Regions from separate parts of the Homo sapiens genome. Here all the other regions are linked to region 2. The links are contacts of gene promoters, found by promoter capture Hi-C in human tissues and cell types (Jung and others, 2019). All regions are on one chromosome and are shown on one strand. The core of a region is centred on a gene start or on the middle of the fragment in contact, and the rest is flanking DNA. Distances in the headings are between cores, read along the strand shown. Region 1 has its middle 45 kb from the start of RBAKDN. Region 2 holds the start of MMD2 (monocyte to macrophage differentiation associated 2). Region 3 has its middle 27 kb from the start of RBAKDN.

Region 1 (4,198 bases), core at 1,355-3,854, 160 kb before region 2:
CTCAATTGTGCTGTGAACCTAAACTGCTCTAAAAAAGTCCTTAAAAAGAGCTGTCGTAGGCCAGGTGTGGTGGCTCATGCCTGTAATCCCAGCACTTTGGGAGACCAAGGCGGGCGGATCACAAGGTCAGGAGTTCAAGACCAGCGTGGCCAACATAGTGAAACCGTCTCTACTAAAAATACAAAAAATTAGCTGGGCATGGTGGTGGGCACCTATAATCCGAGCTACTCGGGAGGCTGAGGCAGGAGAATCGCTTGAACCCAGAAGGCGGAGGTTGCAGTAAGCTGAGTTCGAACCATTGCGCTCCAGCCTGGGCAATAGTGTGAGACTCCATCTAAAAAACAAAAAAAAAACAAAACAAAGCAAAATGCATACACACAAAAAAACCAGCTGTCTTAAATCTGTTTAGGGGTGATCATGTTCCATATACCGGTAGCATTTGGGGAGAAGGCTGGGAGGCTCTTCTGCTCCAGGGCTAGGGCTTTTGTGTTTCAGGTTTCCTGACACCAGCCTCAAGAAGCCACAGATAAGGATGGAAATGGTATGAAGAGACTCTTCCTCTTTCCCAAGACTCCTGAAGCCATTGTCAGCTTCCTTCTTGGTGCTCCTCACTGGAGTAGACATAATTCTTCCCAATCAGCCTTGATAGGCGTGCACATCCACCAGCCAGGTGGTTAGGTAGGCAGAGGTTACCTGCACTGACCATGCCTCTGAGGTTCCTGGCTCCTAAATGGGCCCTTCAGGAGGTATTTTTTTGTTTGAGATGGGGCTTTGCTCTGTCACCCAGGCTGGAGTACAGTCCTGCAATCATAGCTCACTGCAGCCTCCACCCCCTGGGCTCAAGTGATCCTCCTGCCTCAGCCTCCCACTTAGCTGGGACTACAGGCACACAGCAGTACACCTGGACAATTTTTGTAGAGGCGGGGTTTCACTGTGTTAGCCAGGCTGGTCTCAAACTCCTGGACTCGAGATCCTCCTGCCTTGGCCTCCCAAAGTGCTGGGGTTACAGGCATGAGCCACTGCGCCAAGCCCAAGAACATTTTTGATTATCACACAGGGTAGTGGGGTGGAGGGTGCCACCGGCATCCAGTGAATAGAGAAAGACTCAGAGCGCGGCCGAGCACTTTGTAACGCATGGGACATCCCCCAACAGCAAAGAACCATCCAGCGCAAGACGTCAACGGACACAGCAGCGCTAGGCTGGAGTCGGATTGCTGGTCTTTGCGTGCTATACTTAGATTTACACCCCGTAGGCGTTGGGGAGGCTTAGATGGCTCCAGAATGGTGAGATTCCCCTCAGTGGGAGAAATCTCAGGACAGACACCGCCTGGCACCCAGCATCAGGCAAAATCCACCTGGTGGCCATCCCCAGCGTCCTCTGGCCGACCATGCATTGCAGGGCCTCCTGCATGTCCCGGTTCCGCAGCGTGTAGATGGCCGGGTACAGCAGCGGGGTGACGTTGATATAGATGAGCGAGACCAGCTTGTCCTCCTCAAGGGAACGGCTGTTCAGGGGCCTGGCATACATGGCCGTGGCACAGCCGTAGTGGAGCACAGCCACGGTGAGGTGGGACGCCACCGTGTTGAAGGCCTTGCGGCGGCCCGCGACCCCCCCAACACCCAGGATGACCACCAGCACCCGGGTGTAGGAGAGCAGGATGAGGAGCAGGGGTAGCACCAGCAGCAGCAGGCAGGCCACCAGGAGGACGCGCTCCTGCAGGGCCCGGCACCCGCAGGCCAGCACCAGCACGGCCGGGAGGTCGCAGAAGACGTGGTTGACCAGGCCGCCGCGGCAGAAGGGCAGCTGGAAGATGACCGCGGTGAGGCCCAGGGCCAGGACAGAGCCACCCGCGCAGCAGGCGGCCAAGCAGGCCCCAGCAGACGTCCATGGTCATGAGCCGAGGGTAGCAGAGTGGATGGCAGATAGCCAGGTAGCGGTCTAGGGCCATGGCAGCCAGCAGCAGGCACTCGGAGCCCCCCAGGGCCACGAAGAGGCCCATCTGGGCGGCGCAGGTAGAGGGGTCCACAGCCTGGCCCCTGGAGGGCAGGAGGAAGCCGGCCAGCATGCGTGGCGTGAGCACCAGCGTGTAGGCTGCCTGCGCCGCGGACAGCGCCCCCAGGAAGAAGTACATTGGCGAGTGCAGGGCGGGGTCCACCAGGGCCAGGCCCAGGATCAGTAGGTTCCCCGCCAGGGTGACCAGGTAGAGCGGCAAGAAGAGGACGAAGAGCAGCACGCGGAGCCCCGGGGGCCACACGGAGAAGCCCAGGATCACGAACTCCTGCAGGGCTGTCCCATTGGACTCAGGCCAGCAGCTCGCGTTGGGGTCTGCGGCAGGGACAGGAGTGCAGGCTGGAGAGGTGTCACTGTGACACCTCCCTCCTAGACACCTGTATGCCTTTTGCCTGTCCTAGGCCCCAGAACCCCACGCCCAGCCTTCTGAGGGCTACCCTTTCTCACTCTGTCCCCACCTTCTCCCAGGAACCCAGAATCCTCCCCTCAATCCATCCTGGGCACCCCTCACTTCCCCCAGTCCAATGTTCCCCGGAAATTCAGATGGCCGGAGCTGCTGTGCTGTGCCCTGCATGCTTCCAGGCACCCAGGGGTCTCCTTCAGACGTAGCCACCCACCCTCCCAGTTCTATCCCACCTCCTAAAACCTACCTCGTCCATACCTAGGAAGGCAGGCATCCTGGTTCCCAGCCTACAGTGAGAAGGAAGAGCTGCAGCCGGCGGGGAAGGACTGGAAGGAGTCTGGGTTCTCCCAGGTGATCTCTGCGTGGAGTGGGCTGGTTCTGAGCAGCAGGAATGACCAGTCCTGCAGACAGAGCCACGTGGGTGAAGTCTCAGAAGCAGCGGGAGAATCCTCTGTGCACAGAGGCTGCCTGACCCCCTGCACACCTCCCGGCCCTGAGCTGATAGAACAGTGCATCCATCATCTCTCCTGCCCTGGGATGGGTGCTTTATGATTCCCTTTTCTTCCCCTTTGCTGGATTCAGGACAAACCCATTGCAATCCTGGGTTCATCATTTCTCCCTCAGTTGCAGAGAAAATAACTACCAGGGAAGAGCATCCACCCTCTCCACGGGGGCAGCCGCCTCATGAGGAAGAGCAGCCTTCACGAGTCAGAGCAGCTGCTGCCATGGTCATGAGGAGAGTTCCAGTCCTTCCTCTTAGATGCAGAATCATATATCATCATCATTATTGAGACTGGGTCTCGCTCCATTGCCAAGGCTGGAGGGCAGTGGTGTGATCTTGGCTCACTGTGCTCTCCGCCTCCTGGGTTCAAGCAATCTTCCCATCTCAGCCCCCCAGGTAGTTGGGACCGCAGGTGAACACTGCCTCATCTAGCTAATTTTTCTAATTTTTATTTTTTGAGACAGTGTCTCATATCACTCTGTTGCCTAGGCTGGAGTGCAGTGGCGCAATCTCAGCTCACTGCAGCCTCTGCCTCCCAGGTTCAAGCGATTCTCCTGCCTCAGCCTCCCGAGTAGCTGGGACTACAGGCATGTGCCACCACGCCCAGCTAATTTTTGTATTTTTAGTAGAGATGGGGTTTCACTATGTTGTCCAGGCTGCTCTCAAACTCCTGACCACAGCTGATCCGCCTCACCCTCCCAAAGTGCTGGGATTATAGGCATGAGCCACCGTGTCTGCCCTAATTTTTCTATTTTTTGTTGAGACAGGGTTTCGCCATGTTACTCAGGCTGGTCTTGAACTCCTGCACTCAAGCGATCTGTCTGCCTCGGCTTCCCAAAGTGCTGGGATTACAGGGGTGGGCTACTGCACCCTACCTACTTTTTTTTTTTTTTTTTTGAGACAGGGTCTCATTCTGTTACCTAAGTTGGAGTGTGGTGGTCTGATCACACAGCTCACTGCAGCCTCAACCTCCCAGAATGAGGCAGTCCTCCTGCCTCAGCCCCCAAGTAACTGAGACCATGGGTGCCTGCCACCACACCTATTTTTTTTTTAAAATTATTTGTAGAAATAGGGTCTCCTTATATTGCCCAGGCTGTTCTCCAACTTCTGGGCTCAAGTGATCCTCGTGCCTCAGCCTCCCAAAGTGCTGGGATTACAGGTGTGAGCCACCACACCCAGCCCATGTTTTAAAATTTTTAAAAACTTCTTAACATTTTTTTAAATGCTAGAAGACTTTATAACTTTTTTAATTTTAAAAAGCTTAATTTTTAAAAAAAGCTGA
Region 2 (4,553 bases), core at 1,662-4,161:
CTGCTTCAGCCTCCTGAGGAGATGGGACTGCAGGCGCATGCCACCATGCCTGGCTAATTTTAAAATTTTTTGTATAGATGGGGTTTCACCATGCCAAGGTTGGTCCTGAATTCTTGGCCTCAAGCAATCTTTCTGCTTTGGCCTCCCAAAATGCTGAGATCACAGGCATGAGCAGTGGCTTACCCCACCTGGCTTAAAAAAATATAGATAGATAGGTGGATAGATAGATAGATAGATAGATAGATAGATAGATAGATAGATGAGGCTGGGACGGAGGCTGAGATCCTGGAGGCAGAGGTTGGAAAACCAGGAGTTCTCATGTCCCAGGGCAGAAGAGTGTCTCAGCTCCAGGAGAGAGAGAGACCATCTGCCACTTTCTTTCTTTCTTTCTTTTTTTTTTTTTAGAGGGAGTCTCGCTCTGTCACCCAGGCTGGAGTGCAGTGGCGCGATCTTGGCTAACTGCAACCTCCGCCTCCCAGGTTCAAGCGATTCACCTGCCTCAGCCTCCCGAGTAGCTGGGACTTATAGTCCCAGGATGGTCTCGATCTCTTGACCTCGTGATCCGCCTGCCTTGGCCTCCCCAAGTGCTGGGATTACAGGCATGAACCACCGTGCCCGGCTGCATCTGCCACTTCTAATCCATCATCAGGGTGGTCTGGTGGCCTTTGCCTCCTAAGCACTCCTGTTCCCTCTTCTGGTCCCCACCTCAGCCATCCCCCACCCCACCCCCCAGCCCTCAGCCCTGCCATGGCCTCTGAAGGCATCTACTTATAACCCTCTGGTCCTCCCCAGTGGAAGTGGCGAAATAAATTAGATGGAGTCAGCAACACCTGTAATCTCCCCACTTTGGGAGGCTGAGGCGGGCAGATCACCTGAGGTCAAGGAGTTTGAGACCAGCCTGGCCAACATGGTGAAACCCCATCTCTACTAAAAATACAAAAATCAGCTGGGCATGGTGGTGCACGCGTGTAGTCCCAGCTACTTGGGAGGCTGAGGCACGAGAATCGTTTGAACCCGAGAGGCAGAGGTTGTAGTGAGCTGAGATGGCGCCACTGCACTCAAACCTGGGCGACAGAGTAAGACCCCGTCTCAAAAAAAAAAGAAAAAAAGGTGAAGTCCTTTGTCTTTTTCCCACTTCTGGTCCTAGCTCCCTGGGGGCAGAGGGAGTGGGTGGGGTTATCTTCTGAATGTTCAGCAGGATCTCAAATAAAGCATTACTGTATTAATAAAAAGGAATAGGGGCTGGGGCTTGGGAAGGAGGGTGAAGTGTGTGTGCAAACGAAGGGCCTTCTCTTGGATCTGGGGACCAATCCTAGGGTTCCTCAGGTGCCGCTGGCATGTCTTTCACATGGAAGCCTGTCTTCCCTCCATCAGCCCCCCGGGGTTCCAAGCCTCCCATAGGGTGGTTGGTTTTCCAAAGCCCAGAACCTGGGCCAGGTCTCCTACGGGAGAAAGCTGGAATTTGTACTCGGGAATCCAGCCACCAGATGCAAATGACCCTGTCATGGCGGTCAGGAGGGTCCTCAGAGTCATGAAGTCTTGGGGGAAGAGGGTTTTCCCAGAGGCCCTGACCCTTCCCGGGCAGGTCCCATAGGGGCCCTTGTGCCTAGCAGGGACGTGGCAGTAGGGAGCCAGGCAGTGGGGGGAGCAAGCAAGCCACAGGCAGGCGGTAGGTGCTGGGCCCAGCTACACTGGGGACGACGGGCACAGTGTCCGCTGTCCTTCCAGCCAAGTTGGGGCCAGCGGGGTCGGTCCAGCCCTGTCTAGCCCTGGAGGGCTTTTTTCTCCTCACTGGAAAAAGTACTGGTGGAGGATACCTGGGAAAAAGGGGCTGGATTGGGAAGTCCCCTATCCACTTCCTACTCCCTCCACCCCCCACCAACCTCACTTTCCAGTCCCCCTACCCTCGGGTCCCCCACTCCCCACCAACTCCTCCACTTCCCACTCCCTCCACCCCCAGGTCCCCCGCTCCCTCCAACACCCCCACTTCCCACTCCCCCCACCCCCAGGTCCCCCACTCCCTCCAAGACCCCCATTTCCCACCTCCACCAACCTCGGAGTCCCTCTCTTCCCACTAACCCCCTCACTCCCCCCCCAACACCCCGACTTCCCACTCCCTCCACCTCCAGTTCCCCTTCTTCCCACCAACCCCCCACTTCCTCCACCCCCAGGTCCCCCACTCCCCCCAACCCCCCACTTTCCACTCCCTCCACCCCCCAACACCCCCATTTCCCACTCCCTCCACCCCCAGGTCCCCCACTCCCCCCAACTTCCCCCACTTTCCACTCCCTCCACCCCCAGGTCCCCCACTCCCCCCAACCCCCCACTTTCCGCTCCCCCACCCCCAAGTCCCCCACTCCCCACCAACGCCCCCACTTCCCACTCATCCCACGTCCATTCCCACTCTCCTTACCCCCCACTTCCCACTTCCCCCAACCCCTCCAGCACCCCCTGTTCCCACTCCCGTCCCCTTCCCACTCCCCGACTCCCTCAGCCCCGCAACTTTGCATTCCACCCACCTGGCGCCCCCGCCTTCCCAATCCTTCCCACTCCCCCTACTACCACTTCCCGCTCCCCACCCCACCAACCCCCCACCTCCTGGCTTCCAGGGAGGGCACCGGGAAAAGGGGCCGGGGCCAGGGCCGCCCCAGGCCTGGGCGATGGGTGGCTCGCGCGCGCAGCCAGGACCCCCCCCGTCCCGCCCCCACTCCTTACGCCCACTTCCTCACCCCCACCTCTCCCACCCCCCCATCTCCCCACGACCCTCCTCCACCTCAGCGGAGGCGGCGGGGTCGCGGGAGGGAGGGGGCCGGGCTTAGGCGATTGGCAGCGCGAGCCCGGGAGCCCCCCCGTGCCCCCGCCCGCCCCGCCCCCGCCACCATCTGCTCGGGATTTGGCGTCGGCGGCTCCGGGCGCCTCCAGCTCCGGCTCGGGCTCCGGCTCCGGCTCCGGGCGCCGACCAGGTCCCCTTGGCCCCCGCCGCGCGCCCTCCAACCTGCTGCTGCCGCCGCCGCGCCCCCCAGGCTCTGCCAGCTACCCGCGCTCTGAGCCCGGGGCCAGATTCCCATGGAAGCGCCGCGATGTTCGCCCCCCGGCTGCTGGATTTCCAGAAGACGAAATACGCGAGGTGAGCGGCGGCCGCGGAGGTCCGCGGGGAGGGAGGGAGGGGCGCGCGGCGGCGGGGGCCGCGGAGGCCACCTTGGTTCTCGGGCCCCGCCGCCCGGAGCGCTAGAGGGGATCGGCGGACCCCTGACCCCCGCCCGAGAAAACCAGGACCCAGGCAGCCTCGTCTTCTCGCTGGGATGGAGTAACCGGGGCGCCCGCGCCTCCTCGCTGGGTGCCATTGGGCAAGTCGCTTCACTTCTCTGAACCTCATTTCCACGTTTGCAAAACGGGGGTTATGCGAGTCCCCGTGTCCTGGGTCGCCGTGAGGATTAAGCGAGCTGGTCCTTGCAGAGCACTTTGCGCAGCGCCTGGAGCCCAGGCCAGCTACGCTCGGGCAGTTACGCTCGGTCTCTCTTGGGCACTCTTGTTCATGGTAAAAGGCGTTGGTACCACCTCTGTCCACCCTTCCAGCAAGTCGGAGGAAAGAGTAAGTGCTCTTTTCAGATGGAGAAACTGAGGCTCGGGGTGCGGTGGGGGGAGGCACCTGTACATCCTGGTCTTTTCATAGTGTGAACTCCGTGGTCCCCTCAGAACCTCCGTCTCTTTTGTAAAATGGTGATTAACAGACATTGTGATATCTGAGTAGAAGTTAGGCTCCTGTTGCTTGGAATTCCAGTGAAGAAGGTGGGCGTGGGGAGGGGGTTTCTCCTTTTACATATCTTTAAGATTTTGTTGGGAGATGTGCTTGCCTGGAAGCTGGCATGAAAAATCCCCTCCTAAAGTTGCTCCTCGGTCCCCAGTGGTCTTCGGCGAGCACAGACCCGTCTGCTGGGAGCAGCCCGCGGGGGCCTCTTTGGAGGGGGCACCAGGCTGTCCTCCAGGTCACCTTTCCCCCTCTGCCACCTGGGGTCCCCTGCCTTCGTGAACAGAGGGGCCTGGTGTGTGCTGAGGCTCCAGTGGGTGGTGAGTGGGAGATGGGCTGGCAGTATTCTTCCTACTCACATCAGTGTGGCTTGTCACTTGCAACTGGTTGTTGAGAGTGCCCTGGTGCTCCTGAAGTCTCCACAAGTTCTGGTCATATTGAGCACAGCTTGACAAGAGGAGCTCAGGGCTAGGATGGTGTCCAGGGTAGGGAAGGCTGGCGGACAGGACGGAACCCTTCCTTCCCCCTCAGTCTCACCCTCTGTTTCCCCCTGGGGGACATGATGAGTCTATCTCTCCTAAATGGGGAATCCCACCCAGAGATGTGATGCACTTGGGAAGGACTTGAGGATAAGTTCCTGCGGATTGACTCTGTTGACCAGATTGTGTGACTGGACTGGACTTACTTTTTTTTTTTTTCTGAGATGGAGTCTCGCTCTTGTTGCCCAGGCTGGAGTGCAATGGCATGATCTCGGCCCACTGCAACCTCCACCTCCTGGTTTCAAGCGATTCTCCTGCTTCAGCCT
Region 3 (4,440 bases), core at 1,779-4,278, 140 kb before region 2:
AGCTGGGCATGGTAGTAAGTGCCTGTAATCCCACCTACTCGGGAGCCTGAGGGAGGAGAATCGCTTGAATCCAGGAGGTGGAGGTTGCAGTGAGCCGAGATCGCGCCCCTGCACTCCAGTCCGGGCGACAGTGGGAGACTCTGTCTAAAAAAAAAAAAAAAAAAAAAAAAAAATTCAGCCGGGTCTGGTGGCTGACACCTGTAATCCCAGCACTTTAGGAGGCCGAAGTGGGCAGATCACCTGAGGTCAGTAGCTTGAGACCAGCCTCACCAATGTGGTAAAACCCTGTCTTTACTAAAAATACAGTATTAGCTAGGCGTGGTGGCACGTGCCTGTAATCCGAGCTACTCGGGAGGCTGAGGCAGGAGAATCACTTGAACCTGGGAGGTGGAGGTTGCAGTGAGCCAAGATCGTGCCAATGCACTCCAGCCTGGGCAAAAAGAGCAAAACTCCATCTCAAAAAAAAAATCTCATCAAAGAAGAACCACAGATTCACTGCTGAATTCTACCAAACATTTAAAGTACCAATGCCAATTTTTCTCAAACTTTTCCAGAAAATCGAAGGGAAGGAATTCTTCCAATATCATTCTACAAGGCCAATATTACTCTAAGACGAAAACCAGACAAGAACACAACACAAAAAGAAAACTACAGGCCAATATCCCTGATGAACACAGATGCAAAGATCCTTAACAAAATACTAGCAAACCAAATCCAGCAGCACATTATAAAGATCCTTCACGGCCGGGCGCGGTGGCTCATGCCTGTAATCCCAGCACTTTGGGAGGCCGAGGCAGGCAGATCACGAGGTCTGGAGTTCGAGACTAGCCTGGCCAACATGGTGAAACCCTGTCTCTACTAAAAATACAAAAATTAGCTGGGCGTGGTGGCACACACCTGTAATCCCAGCTACTTGGGAGGCTGAGGCAGAAGTACTGCTTGAACCTGGGAGGCGGAGGTTGCAGTGAGCCAAGATCGCACTACTGCACTCCAGACTAGGTGACAGAGTGAGATTCTGTCTCAAAAAAAAAAAAAAAAAATCCTTCACTGTGATCAAGTGAGATTTATCCCAGAGATACAAGGATGGTTCAACATTTGCAAATCAATAAATGTGACACATTACATCAACAGAACGAAAGACAAAAACTGTATAATCATCTCAAGAGATGCTGAGAAAGCATTTGATGAAATTCAACATTGCTTTATGACAAAACTCTGAACAACATAGGCATATAACGAATGTACTGCCGCTCAATGAAGGCTACATATAGCAAACCCACAGCTAACATCATACAGAATGGGGAAAAGCTTAAAGCTCTTCCTCTTGGAACTGGGACAAGATATAAATGCCCACACTCGCCACTCTTATTCAATAGTACTGGAAGTCCTAGACAGAGCAATTAGTCAAGAGAAAGAAATAAAGGGAATTCAAACTAGAGAAGAGCCGTGAAATCATCCCTGTTTCCAGACAACATGGTCTTATATATAGAAAATCCTAAAAGCTCCACCAAAAAAAATTTTTTTTTTTTTTTTTTTTTTTAAGATGGAGTCTCCGTCTGTTGCCCAGGCTGGAGTCCAATGGCACAATCTCGGCTCACTGCAACCTCTGCCTCCCAGGTTCAAGCAATTCTCCTGCCTCAGCCTCCCAGGTAGCTGGGATTACAGTCGCACGCCACCATGCCCAGCTAATTTTTGTATTTTTAGTAGAGATGGGATTTTACCACGTTGGCCAGGATGGTCTCGAACTCCTGACCTTGTGATCTGCCCACCTCGGCCTCCCAAAGTGTTGGGATTACAGGTGTGAGACACCGTGCCCGGCTCCAAAAAACTTTTAGAACTGAAATTTAGTAAAGTTGCAGGATATAAAAATCAACATACAAAAATCAGCAGTATTTCTATACATTGACAATGAACTAGCTGAAAAAAAAAGTCAAGAAAGCAATCCCATTTACAGTAGCTATAAAAAGTACCTAGGAATAAAGTTAACCAAGGAGGAGAAAGGTCTCTGAAAGGGAAACTATAAAACACCGGTGAAATAAATTGAAGAGGACACACAGAAAAATGCAAAGACACCTTATGCTCATGGATCGCAAGAATTCATACTGTGAAAATGATCAGACCACCAACAGCAATCTACAGATTCAATGCAATCCCTATCAAAATACCAAGACATTCTTCACAGAAATAGCAAAAACAATCCTAAAATTCATATAGAGCCACAAAAAACTCCAAATAGCCAAAGCAGTCGTGAGCAAGAACGAAGCTGAAGGCATAACACTAAATGACTTCAAAATATACTACAAAGCTACAGTAATTAAAGCCTCATGGCACTGGCATAAAAACAGACACACAGACCAATGGAACAGAATAGAGAACCCAGAAATAAATCCGTACATCTACAGTGAATTTTTTTTTTTTTTTTTGAGATGGTTTCTTACTCTGTCACCCAGGCTAGAGTGCAGTGGTGCAATCACAGCTTACTGCAGCCTTGACCTCCCCAGGCTCAGGTGATTCTTCCACTTCAGCCTTTCAAGTAGCTAGGACCACAGGCATGCACCATCACACCTAGCTATTTGTGTGTGTTTTTTGTAGAGACAGAGTTTTACCATGTTGCCCAGCCTGGTCTCAAACTCCTGGGCTCAAGCAGTCCACCCACTTCAGCCTTCCAAAGTGCTGGGTTTACAGGCATGAGCCACTGTGCCTGGCCAGGTGATGCAATTTTGACAAAGGCATCAAGAACATTCATTGGGGAAAGGATAGTCTCTTCAATAAATGGTTGAAAAACTGGGTATCCATAAACAGAAGGATCAAACCTGATCCCCATTTCTCGTCATATACAAAAATCAACTCAAAATGAATATAAGACTTAAATATAAGACCCAAAGCTATAACATTACTAGAAGAAAACACAGGGAAAACACTTCATGACACTGGTCTGGGCAAAATTTTTATTAACAAGATCTTGGTCAGCTGCGATGGCTCACACCTGTAATCCCAGCACTCTGGGAGGCTGAGGTGGGCAGATCACTTGAGGTTAAGAGTTCGAGACCAGCCTGGCCAACATGGTGAAACCCATCTCTACTAAAAATCTAAAAATTAGCCAGGCGTGGTGGCATGTGCCTGTAGTCCCAGCTGCTTGGGAGGCTGAGGCAGGAGAATGGCTAGAACCTAGGAGGTGGAGGTTGCAGTGAGCTGAGATCATACCCCTACACTCCAGCCTGGGCAACAGAGTGAGACTCCGTGTCCAAAAAAAAAAAAAAAAAAAAAAAAAAAAATAGCACAGGCAGCAACAACAATAACAAAGAGAAATGGAATTATGTCACACTAAAGATTCTGCACAACAAAGGAAACAGTTGACAGAGTGAAAAGACAACCTGCAAAATGGGAGAAAATATTTGCAAACTACTTATCTAACAGGAGATTAATATCTAGACTATAAAAATAACTCAAACACTCAACAGCAAAACAGATAATCCAACTTTTTTAATGGGCAGTGAGCTAAATAGACGTTTCTCAAAAGAAGACATACAAATGGCTCAAGATCTATGAAAAAAGGCTCAACATCACTAATAATCAGGGAATGGTGAATCAAAACCACAATGAGATATCATCTCACCCCAGTTAGAATAGCTGTTATTGGCCAGACACGGTGGCTCACGCCTGTAATCCCAGCACTTTGGGAGGCTGTGGTGGGTGGATTACTTGAGGTCAGGAGTTCAAGACCAGCTTGGCCAATATGGTGAAACCCCGTCTCTACTAAAAATACAAAAATTAGCCAGGTATGGTGGCAAGCACCTGTAATCCCAGCTACCGGGGAGGCTGAGGCAGGAGAATCACTTGAACTCAGGAGGCAGAGGTTGCAGTGAGCCAAAATCGTGCCATTGCACACCAGCCTGGACAACAAGAGTAAGACTCTGTCTCTCAAAAAAAAAAAAAAAAAAAAAAAAAAAAAAAAAAAAGCCAGGCGTGGTGGCTCATGACTGTAATCCCAGCACTTTGGGAGGCCAAGGCAAGAGGATCACCTGAGGTCAGGAGCTCAAGACCAGCCTGGCCAACATGATGAAACCCTGTCCCTACCAAAAATACAAAAATTAGCTGGGCGTGGTGGCAGGCGCCTGTAATCCCAGCTACTCAGGAGGCTGAGGCAGAAGAATCGCTTGAATCGGGGAGGCGGAGACTGCGGTGAGCGGAGATCGCACCACTGCACTCCAGCCCGGGTGAAAAGAGTGAACTTCCATCTCAAAAAAAAGAAAAAGCTATTATCAAAACGACAAAAATAACAAATGCTGGTGAGGAGATGGAGAAAGGGGAACGCTTAGACACTGTTGACAGACCGTAAATTAGTACCATCATTGTAGAAAACAGTATGGGAGTTCCTCAAAAAAATGAAAAATACAACAACCATATGATCCAGCAATCCCCCTCTAGCATATATATCCA

Evidence for each region. The method cuts DNA at HindIII sites, captures the fragments that hold promoters and counts their contacts. A contact is called where the count stands out against the background at its distance.
Region 1: a fragment that was not itself captured here is called in contact with the fragment with the promoter of MMD2 in region 2 in 1 of the 25 tissues and cell types used here (hippocampus).
Region 3: a contact is called between a fragment that was not itself captured here and the fragment with the promoter of MMD2 in region 2, in 3 of the 25 tissues and cell types used here (lymphoblastoid cells, mesendoderm cells and spleen).

Annotation. Positions count from the first base shown.
Region 1 is chr7:5,115,247-5,119,444 of GRCh38, reverse strand. It overlaps the pseudogene OR10AH1P. Among named protein-coding and RNA genes, the nearest start is that of RBAKDN, 45 kb to the right of the region's middle. RefSeq lists a silencer at 1,365-1,523. The HindIII fragment of the contact is 3,284 bases long and covers 963-4,198 here.
Region 2 is chr7:4,957,545-4,962,097 of GRCh38, reverse strand. MMD2 (monocyte to macrophage differentiation associated 2) reads left to right here and starts at 2,911. Exons shown (of 7, transcript NM_198403.4): 1 at 2,911-3,127. The coding sequence starts at 3,081. The HindIII fragment of the contact is 48,661 bases long and covers 1-4,553 here.
Region 3 is chr7:5,097,318-5,101,757 of GRCh38, reverse strand. No RefSeq gene overlaps it. Among named protein-coding and RNA genes, the nearest start is that of RBAKDN, 27 kb to the right of the region's middle. The HindIII fragment of the contact is 7,777 bases long and covers 1-4,440 here.